Linked DNA regions of Homo sapiens: region 2 is linked to region 1. Evidence: promoter capture Hi-C in 16 types of primary human blood cells and fetal thymus (Javierre and others, 2016). All regions are on one chromosome and are shown on one strand. Each heading gives the region's core, a stretch centred on a gene start or on the middle of the fragment in contact. The rest is flanking DNA. Distances are from core to core; before and after follow the strand shown.

The links. The method cuts DNA at HindIII sites, captures the fragments that hold promoters and counts their contacts. A CHiCAGO score of 5 or more calls a contact.
Region 2: the fragment with the promoter of GMCL1 here is called in contact with the fragment with the promoter of FBXO48 in region 1 in 1 of 17 cell types (fetal thymus); the score reaches 5.1 in fetal thymus.

The regions. Positions count from the first base shown.
Region 1 is chr2:68,463,759-68,470,337 of GRCh38, reverse strand. FBXO48 (F-box protein 48) reads left to right here and starts at 3,044. Exons shown (of 4, transcript NM_001024680.3): 1 at 3,044-3,127; 2 at 3,868-4,194; 3 at 5,160-5,498; 4 at 5,968-6,579. The coding sequence starts at 5,193. The coding sequence ends at 6,129. It overlaps APLF (aprataxin and PNKP like factor), which reads right to left and starts at 2,753. Exons shown (of 10, transcript NM_173545.3): 1 at 2,511-2,753. The coding sequence starts at 2,606. RefSeq lists a silencer at 2,469-2,678 and enhancers at 2,020-2,914, 2,915-3,810, 3,904-3,963. The HindIII fragment of the contact is 4,492 bases long and covers 1,783-6,274 here.
Region 2 is chr2:69,826,523-69,833,352 of GRCh38, reverse strand. GMCL1 (germ cell-less 1, spermatogenesis associated) reads right to left here and starts at 3,693. Exons shown (of 14, transcript NM_178439.5): 1 at 3,201-3,693. The coding sequence starts at 3,460. LOC124906021 (a long non-coding RNA gene) reads left to right here and starts at 3,822. Exons shown (of 2, transcript XR_007086846.1): 1 at 3,822-5,339; 2 at 6,575-6,830. It overlaps ANXA4 (annexin A4), which reads right to left. Exons shown (of 13, transcript NM_001153.5): 13 at 6,241-6,830. RefSeq lists silencers at 3,029-3,204, 3,152-3,231, 3,612-3,841 and enhancers at 2,815-3,735, 4,252-4,341, 3,736-4,657. The HindIII fragment of the contact is 7,336 bases long and covers 1-5,654 here.

The sequences.
Region 1 (6,579 bases), core at 1,795-4,294:
CCATTCCCTTCTGCCCTGCTGCCTAATTTTTTAACCTTTGGCAACCACTAATCTGTTCTCCATTTTTGAAATTTTGCAATTTCGCAATTTCAATGATGTTATATAAATGGAATCACACAATATGTAATCTTTTGGATTGGCTGTTTTAACTCAAGTTCTCTGAAGATTAATCCTGCTGTAAAACCTTCTAACTGATGCCAATCATGGAGCAGAATCAAAATCTAGTAAACAAAGACCTGGGGTTCTCTGATGACTCACATGAAAGCAAAGGGAACAAGAAAGATTAAATTTCATTGTCCTTTGTTCTCTGTGACAGGTTTCTCTGTTGTGTTTTCCTACCACCATAAAAATACAAAACCATTCTCATTGTCAAACTGTTTTACTACCAAGACTATTTTACACAGTCAGATTATAAACTTTTATGTTTGTGTGGCCATCAAGGTTTGTGAAGCTTGTCTCAGAAAAACATGCCCAATTAAGAAAGTTCAAAATCATCCTTATTTATATTAATCGTTTCCGATTCCAATTTACAATGAACTTACTGAGTTTTCCACTTAGAACTCAGTCTTCGCTCTCTCACAATACAAAAATAAATCTCACTGGAATTGCTGTTGTTGGAAACAGGAGCCCTTATGTTGTGTTTTAACCAGTGCAGAGAAGAATCGAGTGCATCTGTCAGCTCCAAAATCGAAAAAACTACAAGGCGATTTGTTTGTTCTCCAAATTTTTCCTTTAACACACTTAGGATGTCATTCATAACCACTTCTGATACACGCCAACCTTGGCAAAAGAATCTCATCCCTGAATGTTATTTCAAAAGGAAAAGCAAAATCTTGACCAGGTAATTGCCCAGCTTTCACTCCTTACCATTTTTAAAAACAGATACCAAATAGGCTCATCTCACATTAGCAAGTCGACAACACAAAGAACAAGCTACAAATAATGAAACGGTCTGCAATCTGTTGCCATGTTTCTAAACCACGGCCCTAAAATTCATCCACCTTTTAACCAGACCCACAGTACTCTACTGGTGACAATTTCTTAAGCAAGTCAAAACTCGTTAGTCACCAGACATATGATTACTAGATTAAGCACATACTCTTAAGTTTCAAACCTACGAATTTAAAAGAAAAATAAAGCCTCCAGACAGTTCCTTCCAGTGTTTGTATAGGCCAACAAACGATGAAAAAAATAGAAATGATGTTAAATATTTAAATAATCACTTGTCCAGTAAAAAAATGAACAGCAATTGAATATCTACTTCCTCAATAACCTTACCACATGCACATGTGCATGTACACAACACACAACACACAACACACACACACACACACACACACACACACACCCCTTTAGGACCAGCTTCCATAATACAATCTTAAACTACCACTCCTTTCCCTGCTCCCAGAAGGGACCTAAGGCAAGTACCAATGGTTCCATTTAGACTCTGGAAGTTAACCAGGACAACAGTACACACTCCTTACTCCTTGGTGTTAGCTCACTGACACAGGTGTCTCCCCGGTCCCAAGAGAAAACTCCTAAAGGGTAGGGACCCATGTTCCATTCATCTTTGTATGCCCCACAGTGCTAGAATCTGCAAAATGTTCTACACAGTGAGCACCAAACAAGAAATGTTGAATGTTAAAGAACAAAATAGAAAACTAGATGTACTTAAGAGATCTATAGAATTCCAGAATGCAATATGCAAATGTTCTTATTCCTAAACCTCTCCCAAAGAAGGTAGAGAATATTTAGCTTTGTGGCATTATGTGTCCAAAAGCTTATGTATGGACTTTAAATAATGTATGTATGGCTCAATTTTCTCATCTGAACAATGAGGATAATAAAAATAGCTAACTGATACGGTCTTGAGACAGTTAAAGATGTTGGTATAGGTAATGTCTCCTTAGACCAATGACACGAACGCTATACACATTACTTATGAAGGGTTAGCTACTCATTTTACTGGAAATAATAAATAATATAAATAAATAAGGTCCACACAGCTCTGCAAAGGAGACCAAAGGTTAAAAGAAATTAGCCTAGAAGACGTAATATCACAGTTTGGCAAACTTTTCTGTAAAGGACCAGACACTACTGTAAATATTTTAGGCTTTACAAGACAAGCCGCAATACCCTCAACCCTTGGAGCAACTATTCCCCCTGAAAAATTAGTAGATTTTTTGTTTACATTTTACATTTCAGAATTTAAGAATCATTCTTAGTTCATGGGGCCATACAAACATAGGCTGGATTTGGCCCCCAGGCACTAGTTTGCCAATCCCTGGATAAGATAATAATGGTAATACAGTCAGTGTTTTAAAAGCAACATAAAGAAATGTTTGTGAATTGGCTTAAAGGTAACTGAAAAACGTGCGGCCCCAAACTTCTAAAATCCGGACCGGCGGACCAGTGCGGTGGGGAAACCGGCCAGGACTAGGGCCGGTCTTCAGGAGCCGGCGCGGAACTCCACGGCTCTCGGGGTCCGCTAAGCCCCCGCCCACACTTACTCCCAGCAGCGGCCCGCGGCCGATCACCGTCTCCCCGGGCGCCAGGGCCACCCGGGGACCGCCGTCCCGCGGCTGCAGCTCGAAGCCCCCGGACATGGCGGGCAAGGATTAGGCCCCTTCGCCAGGAGACTGGCCCCTCCGCTGTTTCCGCCCTCCACAGACACGCGCGGGGCAAGCCCACGCCCTGGGAAAAAACACCGAGGGAGGGCCTCAAAGGCTCCCCGCGGCTGCGCCGGTCCTCTCAGAGCCCGGCCCCAGCGCAGCTTCACGAGTCCCGCCCCTCCACGCCTACTAATGACGCAACCGGGGATTCCCCAGTCTCGCCGCCTCAAAACTACTGTTTAAAAACCCCGGCTTATTCCCCAACACCCTTTTCACCTCCCTCCCATCTTGGAGGACGCCGGGCCTTGTAGTCCTGGTGGCTTTCTTCACTTCCTTTCCCGAGCGGAGACGCCCTGGAAAAAACTACCAATCCCCAAAGGCACTGCGCGCCCCTCTCGGCGCCTGCGCGAGTTCTGAGCAGGGCGGGACTCAGGTGGGCGGGATGCGAAGAGCTATGGGGAAGGATTCGAATTCCGGTGGATTTAAATCGCGGGAGGAGAAGCTACCGCGGCCTAGTAGGTAGAAGGGTCTTCCGTTCCCGTTGGCTTAGGTGTCTACGCTCCCGGGGACGCGGCCTGGACGCAAGCTCAGCCTTCCCTCCGCGGCCTGGAGCCGCAGTGACAGTCAACGCTGACGGTTGTTGTCACTTGTCAGTGCCCTGTGTTCTTGGGTTCCAGCAGCTGCAACCCGCGCGGGACACAAGGAGGGTGGCTCAGACGGGACGTGGGGTGATTAGCCCTGACCCGCGGGATTTGGACGGAGTGGGGCTCCCCGCCCCTCCGACTGCGCTGCCGCCGATCTATCCCTCCGAATGATAGTTGAAAGGGGGACGAGCTTTTACTTCACTTGAGAGAGAATTCAGGAAAGCTCAGTTCATAAAGGAGAAAGGGCAGAAGAGGGGTCGTTTCCAGGCATCCAGGCGAACCTGGACGTAGAAGAAAGATTCCTAGTGGGATTTTAGAAACTCGCAAAGGTATCCCCTGCTGTGAAATTCAAAAGCCTTCATTCCCGTTACAGGAATTCCACAAGGGGACGCATTTTATTCTCCCAGTAAGATCCTGGGAGAAGTGGATAAACACACTGTAACGTTTAAATGCACTGTAACGTTTTCCTAATGTGAGATTCTTTTCAAGAACGTTGTGGTTTGGCTTTGGTTTGTATTGGTGGTGGGAGGGGCCAAGGTGCATGGCAAAAACTTGCTCTTGACTCACCCGTTTTTACGTTTGCTTTCTTACTTCTCCTAACCCTCAAGAAGAAGACCTCTGTTGAACACAGACTGCAGTTCCAGCCACCACAGCTAATCTGGATCATGAATGGGAGCCACCGTGGTCTTGGCAAGTCCGAAAACATAGCTGAGTAGCTCGTCTAGAAAAGAGATTTGTGTTCAGCTGAGTTAAAAGAAGTATTTACCTCAAACCTCTCCTCTTGCACAACCAACCCCCGTTATAAAAGGAAGTGCAAAATGGAATAAACTGATTTTAAGTGAATACAAGCTGTCTTTATATACAAAAGTAACTCAAGGATGGTGATGTACCCAGTCATGCTTTCAACTGATTTGGGAAGCCTACACCATTCACCTTAGGTAAATTAGCTGAAACTGAGCTTTAAATCTGGGCTTCAAAGAGTCACATACTGTACCTAGCTGAGTTCTAAACATTGTTTACAGTTGTCACTCACTGTTGCTTGATGTCTTCAGTGACTATTATCCTTAGCTTGTAATTATGCATGTAGGATAGCTTCAAGGGGCCATTTCTAAAACACTACTCTTATGACTGAGTTGAATATTTGAGACTTTGTTTCATAATCCAGATCTCATCTTCTTGTCCATTTCAGATAGTAGTTGTGTCAAATGTAAGCACCTACCTACCTATAAGATACAAGTAGATAAAATTCTTATATAAACAACTAGAAGTCCAGCAAGTTTATGATTAAGTCACAAATTGCAAATTAATGATGAGGCATCAGTTCCCATGTACAACAAGTATTCAGGAGTTTAATAGGATTGACTCATATACATTTTCAAAGGTACAAAAGTACCGGGTATGGTGGCTCATACCTGTCATCCCAGCACTCTGGGAGGCTGAGGCAGAAGGATTGCTTGAGGACAAGAGTTCAAGACCAGCCTGGACAACATAGCAAGAACCATTTCTCCGTAAAACAGTTTTTGGTTTTCTGTTTTTTTTTTTTTCTTTTTTTTTTTTTTAAAGAGGGGCGGGGTACGCTGAGTCAAGAGAATCGCTTGAGGCTGGAGTTTGAGGCTGCAGTGAGCTATTATGACACATCTGCACTCCAGCCTGGGTGAGAGTGAAACTAACATGTTGGGTGCCTCCCATGTGCAATTCAGATGTAGCAAGACTAGATATTTTACCCACTATCACTGTTAATCCTTGCAAGAACTTTCAGGAGAGCGGCAGCATTGGCCCATTTTACAGATTGAGAAGCTAAAGTCAAGAAAGAGTTCTTAAATTATACCCAAAAAGCATCTGACTTAAAGTAGGATTTATACTCCTATTTGGAGACTGAGCATGTTTAAATTTTGCCTTTTAGGTTACATATGAGGATAACTTAAAACATTAAGCTATGCATAAAAACTCCAAGAGAAACAATAATTTAAGAGTTTCTCACACAGAAGCGAACTCTGTGGATGCTGAGAAGGAAAAAAATGAGAGTCAAAACAACTTTTTTGAACTGCTGCCTGCAGAAATCACTTTTAAAATTTTCAGTCAGCTGGACATTCGGAGTCTGTGCAGGGCTTCATTGACATGCAGGAGCTGGAATGACACAATAAGAAACAGTGACTCTTTATGGAAACCTCACTGCATGACTGTAAGAGCTGTGTGCCGAAGAGAAATAGATGATGATCTAGAAAGTGGTTATTCCTGGAGGGTAAGTTTAATCTTTGCGATCTGCAGTGTTGTTGACAGCGTTATGATAGCAGGTTTGCGCCAATTCTAACTTCTGCTTGGAGGAGTCAGAATTACATATGCAGAATAACACAGACAGTGTGTTGACTCTTGGAAATGAGTTAAAGTTATTAGTCTTTTCCTGCTAACCACACTGTTTCCACACTATCTTTCATTTATCCTTTTGCATTTTTAAAATTCTAAATTCGGGAATTTTCCTGCGTTAACCAGAAGGGAATTAGCTCCTTCTTTCCACTTCACCTTATGCCACTCAGTATAAATACACATATACATACACACACGTACACAGACACATACATTTATTAATGTACGTATATATAAATGTAAATACTCTTTTTTTCAGCCCTGTCAATCTGCTTCTCTTGCTTTAAACACATTCACTAACCAACCACCTACTACAGTCTTTTTTAACGGTGATTTACCTCTTTCAGGTGATACTGCTGAGGAATTACCAGAAGAGTAAAGTGAAACACGAATGGCTAAGTGGCAGATACAGCAACATTTGTTCTCCCATTAGCCTACCAGAAAAAATCATGTACCCAATGGATGCAGATACATGGGGGGAAATTCTAGAAGCAGAACTGGAAAGATAAGGGGAAAAAAAATCACAAATCTCAGGTCTTTGAAAGTTTAAAACTTAAATGACTCTTAGGTTGCAAAAGCGATATCTTTATTCGTTCATTTTGTTGTTCACCTTTTTAAAAGAAAATGAAATGGAACTATTATAAAAGTAAAGCTTTATTTTTGTTTTGCACTTTAGTAAAATTTTTCTGGTTTTATTGTAATGTGGAAAAATCATGAAATGTTATTTTTATAAGAAATAATATACTGATAGAGTGATTTCCAAATACAATGTTTCATGTATTTGTGTTAATATATTTGCAATACTAAATGTAAGAGTGATTTGTATGTTCAGCTTAATGATAATTCAAAATTTCAGGAAGCCACTTTAAACTGACTTAAAGATTCATTAAGTGGTGGTTATAACTAGGCTCATGGGAAGACTAGCTAAGTGAAATTAATAGCAATACATTTAAATTAAT
Region 2 (6,830 bases), core at 2,444-4,943, 1.4 Mb before region 1:
GTGAGCCACCACGCCTGGCCCGTCTTAGTATTTTCTTACACCCTGCATCCGTATTGGGCTGAATAATCCAAGCATCTTCCAGTAATATACAGACACTAAATTCTGATATGCATTTTCCGATAAAGGTTTGCCTTAAAAACTTTCCATTCCAGTCCACTCATGTAGTCTAGGAGTTGGTACACTTTTTCTGTAAAGGTCTAGATAGTAAATATCTTTAGCCTTCTGGGCCAAAAGGCCTCCAAATAATTTTGTTGGCATCCTAGTAGGCAGTGTCCTACTTGCCAGCCTCAGCTTACCACACTTGAGCAAACTTTTCCACCATCCAGTGGGCTACAGCCACACCTCCTTCAACATCATCTGAATCTTAGCTTGGGAAAGGGGTGGGGGCACCTATTCCAAATTTGTTCCTTCTGTGGCTATTCTGCCTCAGCCTTAGAAGTACTGACTACTACATGTATTTTCTAGGGATCTCTTTACCTTAGCGTTTTGTCCTCAGTAGTTAATTCTCTGTGCCTTGTTAATAATGTTTATATTAAATTTCCTGTATTCAAATTGCTGTGTGATTTCTCTCCTTCAAATGCACTGTGACATATATTTCAATAATTACGTTAAATATAAGTGGTCTAACTACTAATTGAAAGGTTAGATTGTCCTGTTGGACAAAAGAAGCAAGACTCAACTATATGCTGTTTACTTGATATCTGTTTTAAATATACACAGGTAAAAAGTGAAAGGAGGGAAAATAAGATATCATTCAGACATTTATCAAAAGAAAGTGGCTGATGGATACACTACAATCCCAGACTTCACCACTACTTGTTATATACATGTGAGAAACCTGCAGCTGTACCCCCTAAATATAAATAAATAAATGTATATATGTATGTATGTATGTGGTAGTGGCTAAATTACTAGGGATAAAGAAGGATGAACATTTTGTTATGATAAAGGGGCCAATTCATCAAGGAGACATATTTACTGCATGCTTACATTCTAGACATTGTGCATTTGTTTGTTCTCATATTTGTCAAAGCCTAAAAGGCAGGTATTTATATCTCCAATTTACATATGAGGGAAATAAGGCTATTAAGTGCAGAATACAGACAAGAAGTCAGAATTTTTTTTTTTTTTTTGAGACAGAGTCTCACTTTGTCACCCAGACTGGAGTGCAGTTGTGCGATCTTGGCTCACTGCAACCTCGCCTCCCAGGTTCAAGCCATTCTTCTGCCTCAGCGTCCCGAGTAGCTGGGATTACAGGCAGCTGCCACCACGACTGGTTAGTTTTTATATTTTTAGTAGAGACAGGGTTTCGCCATGTTGGCCAGGCTGGTTTTGAACTCCTGACCTCAGGTGATCTGTCTGCTTCAGCCTCCCAAAGTGCTGGGATTATAGGCATGAGCCACTGCACCTGGCCAAGAACTCAGAACTCTTAAAACTATGCTATAGGTTGGCAATGGTGGCTCACACCTGTAATCCCAACACTTTGGGAGGTCAAGGCAACAGGATCACTTGAACCCAGGAGTTCCAGGCCAGCCTGGGTGGGCAACAGAGTGAGACCTTGTTTCTACAAATAAAAAAATTAGCTGGGTGTGGTGGTGCATGCCTGTGGTCTCAGCTACACAGAAGGCTGAGGTGGGAGAATTGCCTGATTCTGTGAGGTCGAGGTAGAGTGAGTCATGATCCCACCACTGCATTCCAGCCTGGGCGACACAGCGAGACCCTGTCTCAAAATAGAGAAAAATTTTTCCAAAGGAAAAAAAAACTATGCTACACTGACGCTTCAAAAAGGTTACAGGGTCAGGCATGGTGGCTCACACCTGTAATCTCAGCCCTTTGGGAGGCTTAGGTGGGAGGATCGCTTCAACCCAGGCGTTTGAGACCAGCCTGGGCAATATAGTGAGACTCCTTTAGAAAAAAGCTCCAAAAATCAAACAAACAATTAAAAAAGTTACTGAATAGTATTCACAGTAGGGGTACATTTTTGTATAATAAATACAAATATTCATACAAAAAAAGGTACAAAAGGTTTTATAAACCAAACTATTAAGTTTTTAATCTATGATTCCTTTTTTACAATATATAACACTTGTATAGCAAAACCTTTTTGAATCTGCTTTTAAAGTTTAATTTTAGGCCGGGTGCGCAGTGGCTCACGCCTATAATTCCAGCACTTTGGGAGGCTGAGGCCAGCAGATCACCTGAGGTCGGGAATTTGAGACAAGCCTGGCCAACACGATGAAACCTGTCTCTACTAAAAACAGAAAACATTAGCCAGGCGTGGTGGTGCGCGCCGGTAGTCCCAGCTACTCGGGAGGCTGAGGCACAAGAATCGCTTGAACCAGGAGGTGGAGGTTGCAGTGAGTTGAGATCGCACCACTGCACTCCGGCCTGAGTGACAGAGCAAGGCTCTGTCTCAAAAAGAAAAAGAAATCATTTAAAAAATTTCATGTGTGACCCTACCAAATAACCTTTAAAAACAAAAGCAGAAAAACCAAATTGTTTGTGTAAGCATATATTCTACCTATAAACTACATTCCAGGTCACAAGTCAATATTCCATCTTTCAACTCATCCAAAAAAAAAAAAAAAAGGGGTTAAACAAGCTGCAGCAGCACCGCCCTACATACAGTACATCCACGGTCAACGACTTCATCAACTACTAGAAACTTGCACAGACTCTGTTCCTAGTTAGGAACAAATGTACACTATTGATAAACTTCACCTTTACAATTAACAAGAACTCCTGTGTGCAATTACTTACCCTCCACTGAGTGGGCGACAATAAGAGTGCCTATTTCAGAGATTACATTTAGTGTCTGTACTAAGGCAACCGGATGCAAAACAACTTACTCTGCGGCTACCCACTTGAGAGGGCAAAGGTGGACTGGGAAGGCCAGCCAGCCGGGCGTCTCTAAGGTTTAACGAGACGCGAGCTCGGGCTTGGCGTTTCTCATCCTCATCTTGGGGCTGTAACAACACCCTGGAAGCGTCTGTGGTTGAAAATGCGGAACACCTGGCGTCTCCCAAGGCGCTCCCCAGTCCGCCCCGCATCGGGCCGGCTTCCACATTCACCCTGTCAAGGGCACGTCCCCTCTCCATAGGCTGGGGAGCGCTGCACCCCGCAAGCGCACGAGGCGCCGGCTCGGCCCCAGGCCCAACAGGTGCGGGTCCGGGTCCGCGCGGGTGCGTGCCCCCACGTACCTTCGAGGGGTGTTGAGGAGCCGCTGCTGCTCGTCCCCCTCCTCCTCATCCTCGTCCGTCTCCGAGTCAGGGTGACAGTAGCAGAAGGACCCGCTGCTCCGCTTGCGCTTGTGGCTGCCCGCACAGTAACAGAATCCGTGGCCCGCCGCATCGTCTCCAGTGTCCGGCCTCCGGGCCGAGCCCCCCGCCCTGGCACCCTGCGCCTGCTGGGCAAGGGCTGGTCTTGGCTGGCGCAGCACCCGGCTGCTCAACGATCCCATGGGTCACGGCTCCCCGAGACTTCAGGGAGCCCAGAGAAGGGGGTCTCCCGCCATGGCTCGGCCGCCGCCGCCAGCCTTCCCCGAGCGCAGGTGCCTACACCGCCACCTTCTCACGCGCAGCCCCAACCGTTGCAGCGGACGCCACAGTCTCCATCCTCTTCCCCGCCCGCAGCGTCCGGTCGCGCCGCGCTCTAGCACCGCAGCACCTCGCCCCCTCGCTTTCGCAACAAAGCGCGGGACGGAGGGCGCATGCGTACGGCGAGCCTCCGGAAGGGGCGGGGCAAGGCGTGCGTGCGTGGCAGGTGGAGCCTGCGCACAATCCGGCGCGCCAGTGCAGGCTGGTGTTTTCGGGCCTGCGGTGGGCGTGGCCTCTGACTAACCCGAACTTCGGCGTAGACGTAGTGTTAAACCGTGGTTCATACGCGCCTCTGTAGTGGCAAGACCTGGGACTCCAGTCACTCATTGTTTCTACAAAGGTGCCTTGAGTCCCCGGTGCTTATGGGCCTGTGCTAAGCTAGTGGCAAAACCCCGAAGCTATTTGGTCTCCTTGCGGGAGCTCGGCGCTTGCTGGGGCCACGCTCTGCTTGCTTGGGCGTGGCCTCCTGTGAGAGGGGGCCCTAGGATGAGGCGATATGCTGGATTCCTGGGCTTCCTTAACATGAGCCCTCCCCTGCTGTAGACGTGAATGGAACCCGTTAAGTTATGGGAACGTTCCCGGCACTCCTTTCCTTTCCTCTCAAGTGCCAGTGGGATGTCCGAATAGGGTCTGGCACCATGACTGTCTGGACTCAAAAGTGCCTTCAGGAGGCCCTAGCAAAATTTACTAGTGTCTGCTTGGAGTAGTAGCAGCTCTTGTGATGGACTCCGGACAGCCAGCGTTCATTCCCTGACTCCCTTCTGTTACTTTTTAAGTAAAATAATGAAAATATTTCAAATAGAGTAATACAGATTCCTGTGGACCGACCACTAGCTTGAAATTTTATCAGACTTGCTTTCATTCTTTTTTCCTCCCAGCTTTATTGAGGTGTAATCAATGATTCATTCTTTTTTAAATAGAACAATACATATAGGCAGAAGCCCCTGCGTACCTCCTCCATCTCATTCTGTCTCCCTCCCCAGTGGCAATCACTGTGCTGAGAATGTTGTATATCATGTCCATGCATGTCCTTATATGCATACCCATAAATAATATTTTCTTTTGCATGTTTAGACATATCATGGAATGGAATCATAGTTGTACCTCTCATTGTGCACCTTTCTCCTCTCTCAAAATTATACTCTCAAGATTTATCCATTTGGTCAATCGCTAGATAATTTTCACTGCTCATTGTATGACTGACCCATATTTGTTTTTACATTCCTTAGTGAGAGAGGTTATTTCTACTTTAACGGCCTTACAGAGCAGCAATGAACATCATGTGCAATGGATTCACCAAGCAGATTCCCAAAAGTGAATTTGCTGCGAAATCTGCAACTTTGTTAGCTATTACCAAATTGCTCTCTGGGTTGATTGCATCAAGGTACCAATTTAGACTCCCATTGGCAGTATACGTAGTTTGAGGGTCCCCGTGGACTAATGTCTGATTCATGCATGAGAAATCTGAACCGAGAGAGGCTAGCCGAGGCAGCTTGGGGTGGAGGTGGGAGGCGGAGAATAATGGCTGCAGAGGGATCAGCTTGCATACACAGAATTTGCCAGCACAAAGAACGTGCAGGTGTTTCCCATGGAGCAGATGTGGACCACCATGAGACAGCTTAGGTCCTGCCCAACAGGCCTGGGAGGAAGGCAATGAACTTCAGCACTGAGAACCTCAAAGAGTCACCAAATTCCTAGAGGCTGAAAAAGGAGTACACATTTGCCTTGCCAGAGGAACCTCAGGTGAGTAGCGTGATGAGGTTGACAAAGGAACCCACAAGAATGCCCACAAGAATCAACTTTAGTCTGTCAGGGTCACATAGGGCTGATCCTCTACCACCACAGCAATGACAGTCAGGTAACAACTTTCCTGCTCCCCTTAACTCTCTTCTTTGCTACAACCCAGACATGGTAGGTTGGGGCAGGGGGAGAACATTGAAGGAAACCTAGGTGGAAAAAGAAGAGAAGCCCATGGTCTCCCTTTCCCCAGAAACCAGCTTCCTACTTGCAATAGGCCAGAGGTGAGTGAGGGAAGAAGCATCAACTGTAAATCAAGCTTGCAATTTTGACTGGATATATTACTTACTAAAATGACACTGTTTTATGACCTTAAGGGACTACACAGTAGGACTTTAAAACCTAAGAGTGAACAGAAAAGTCATGACTCTATCTGAATTTACATCTGAAGAAGGGGAAGAACTGCCCACTGAATAAATGTAAGTGGACAGTGGGAGGGAAAAACAAACATAATTATATCTCAAAGTCATGCTAATTCAATATGACAAACATTCGTCCAGGGTGACTTTATCCCACCTTCTAGAAATCTTCTGGTGAATCAATGCTATTTGTTTTAAAATTTTGGCTAAGCTACATATCATTTAAAGATAAAACTTCTACCAAAAAAATCACCATGCTTCCAAAGACAAAGCTGATGTGGAGATTCTGTGGTCTTCTGGGAAGGCATTGAAGTGGTAGTATTATTTCCTGTAAGTAACTGGAGTGACTAAATATTCACATAAGTAGCTTCTACCAGTAGCTGTAGCTTTTATAATAAACAACACTAAACTAAAAAATTCTTATTATTTCACTCACCAAAATACAATGGATGCTATAAAATCAACAAAAAAGGCAAGTATTCCCACTATAAGAATATGAATGTCCTTTATACATTTATGATATTTAATATAAATGGTCTACTTAGAGCAGAGGGCATCACTCATTTCCAGAGAATAAGTTCATACATTATTTTATGTTATTGAGTAGTGTTTGGCATATGTGAACATTAGCCAGTAGGCACGCATAAGACTAAATATGATTTTTTTTTTCTTATCTTGTAATTCCTGTAGAAACTGAGTAACACAAGTCCTTCAAAAATAGCTCCTTTCAGGGGCCAAGATGAAAAACCTCAGAAGGTGAAAAGTGGATCAGAGAAAGACTATACCTCACTTTAAAGACACTTTTTTTTTTTTTTTTTTTAGATGGATTCTCGCTCTGTCGCCCAGGCTGGCGTGATCTCGGCTCACTGCAACCTTTGCCTCCTGCCTCCTGGGTTCAAGCAGTTCTCCCTGACTCAGCCTCCGAGTGGCTGGGATTACAGGCACCAGCCACCACACCCGGCTAATTTTTATATTTTTAGTAGAGATGCAGTTTCTCCATGTTGGCCAGGCTAGTCTTGAACTCCTGACCTTAGGTGATCCACCCGCCTTGGCCTCCCAAAGTGTTGGGATTACTGGC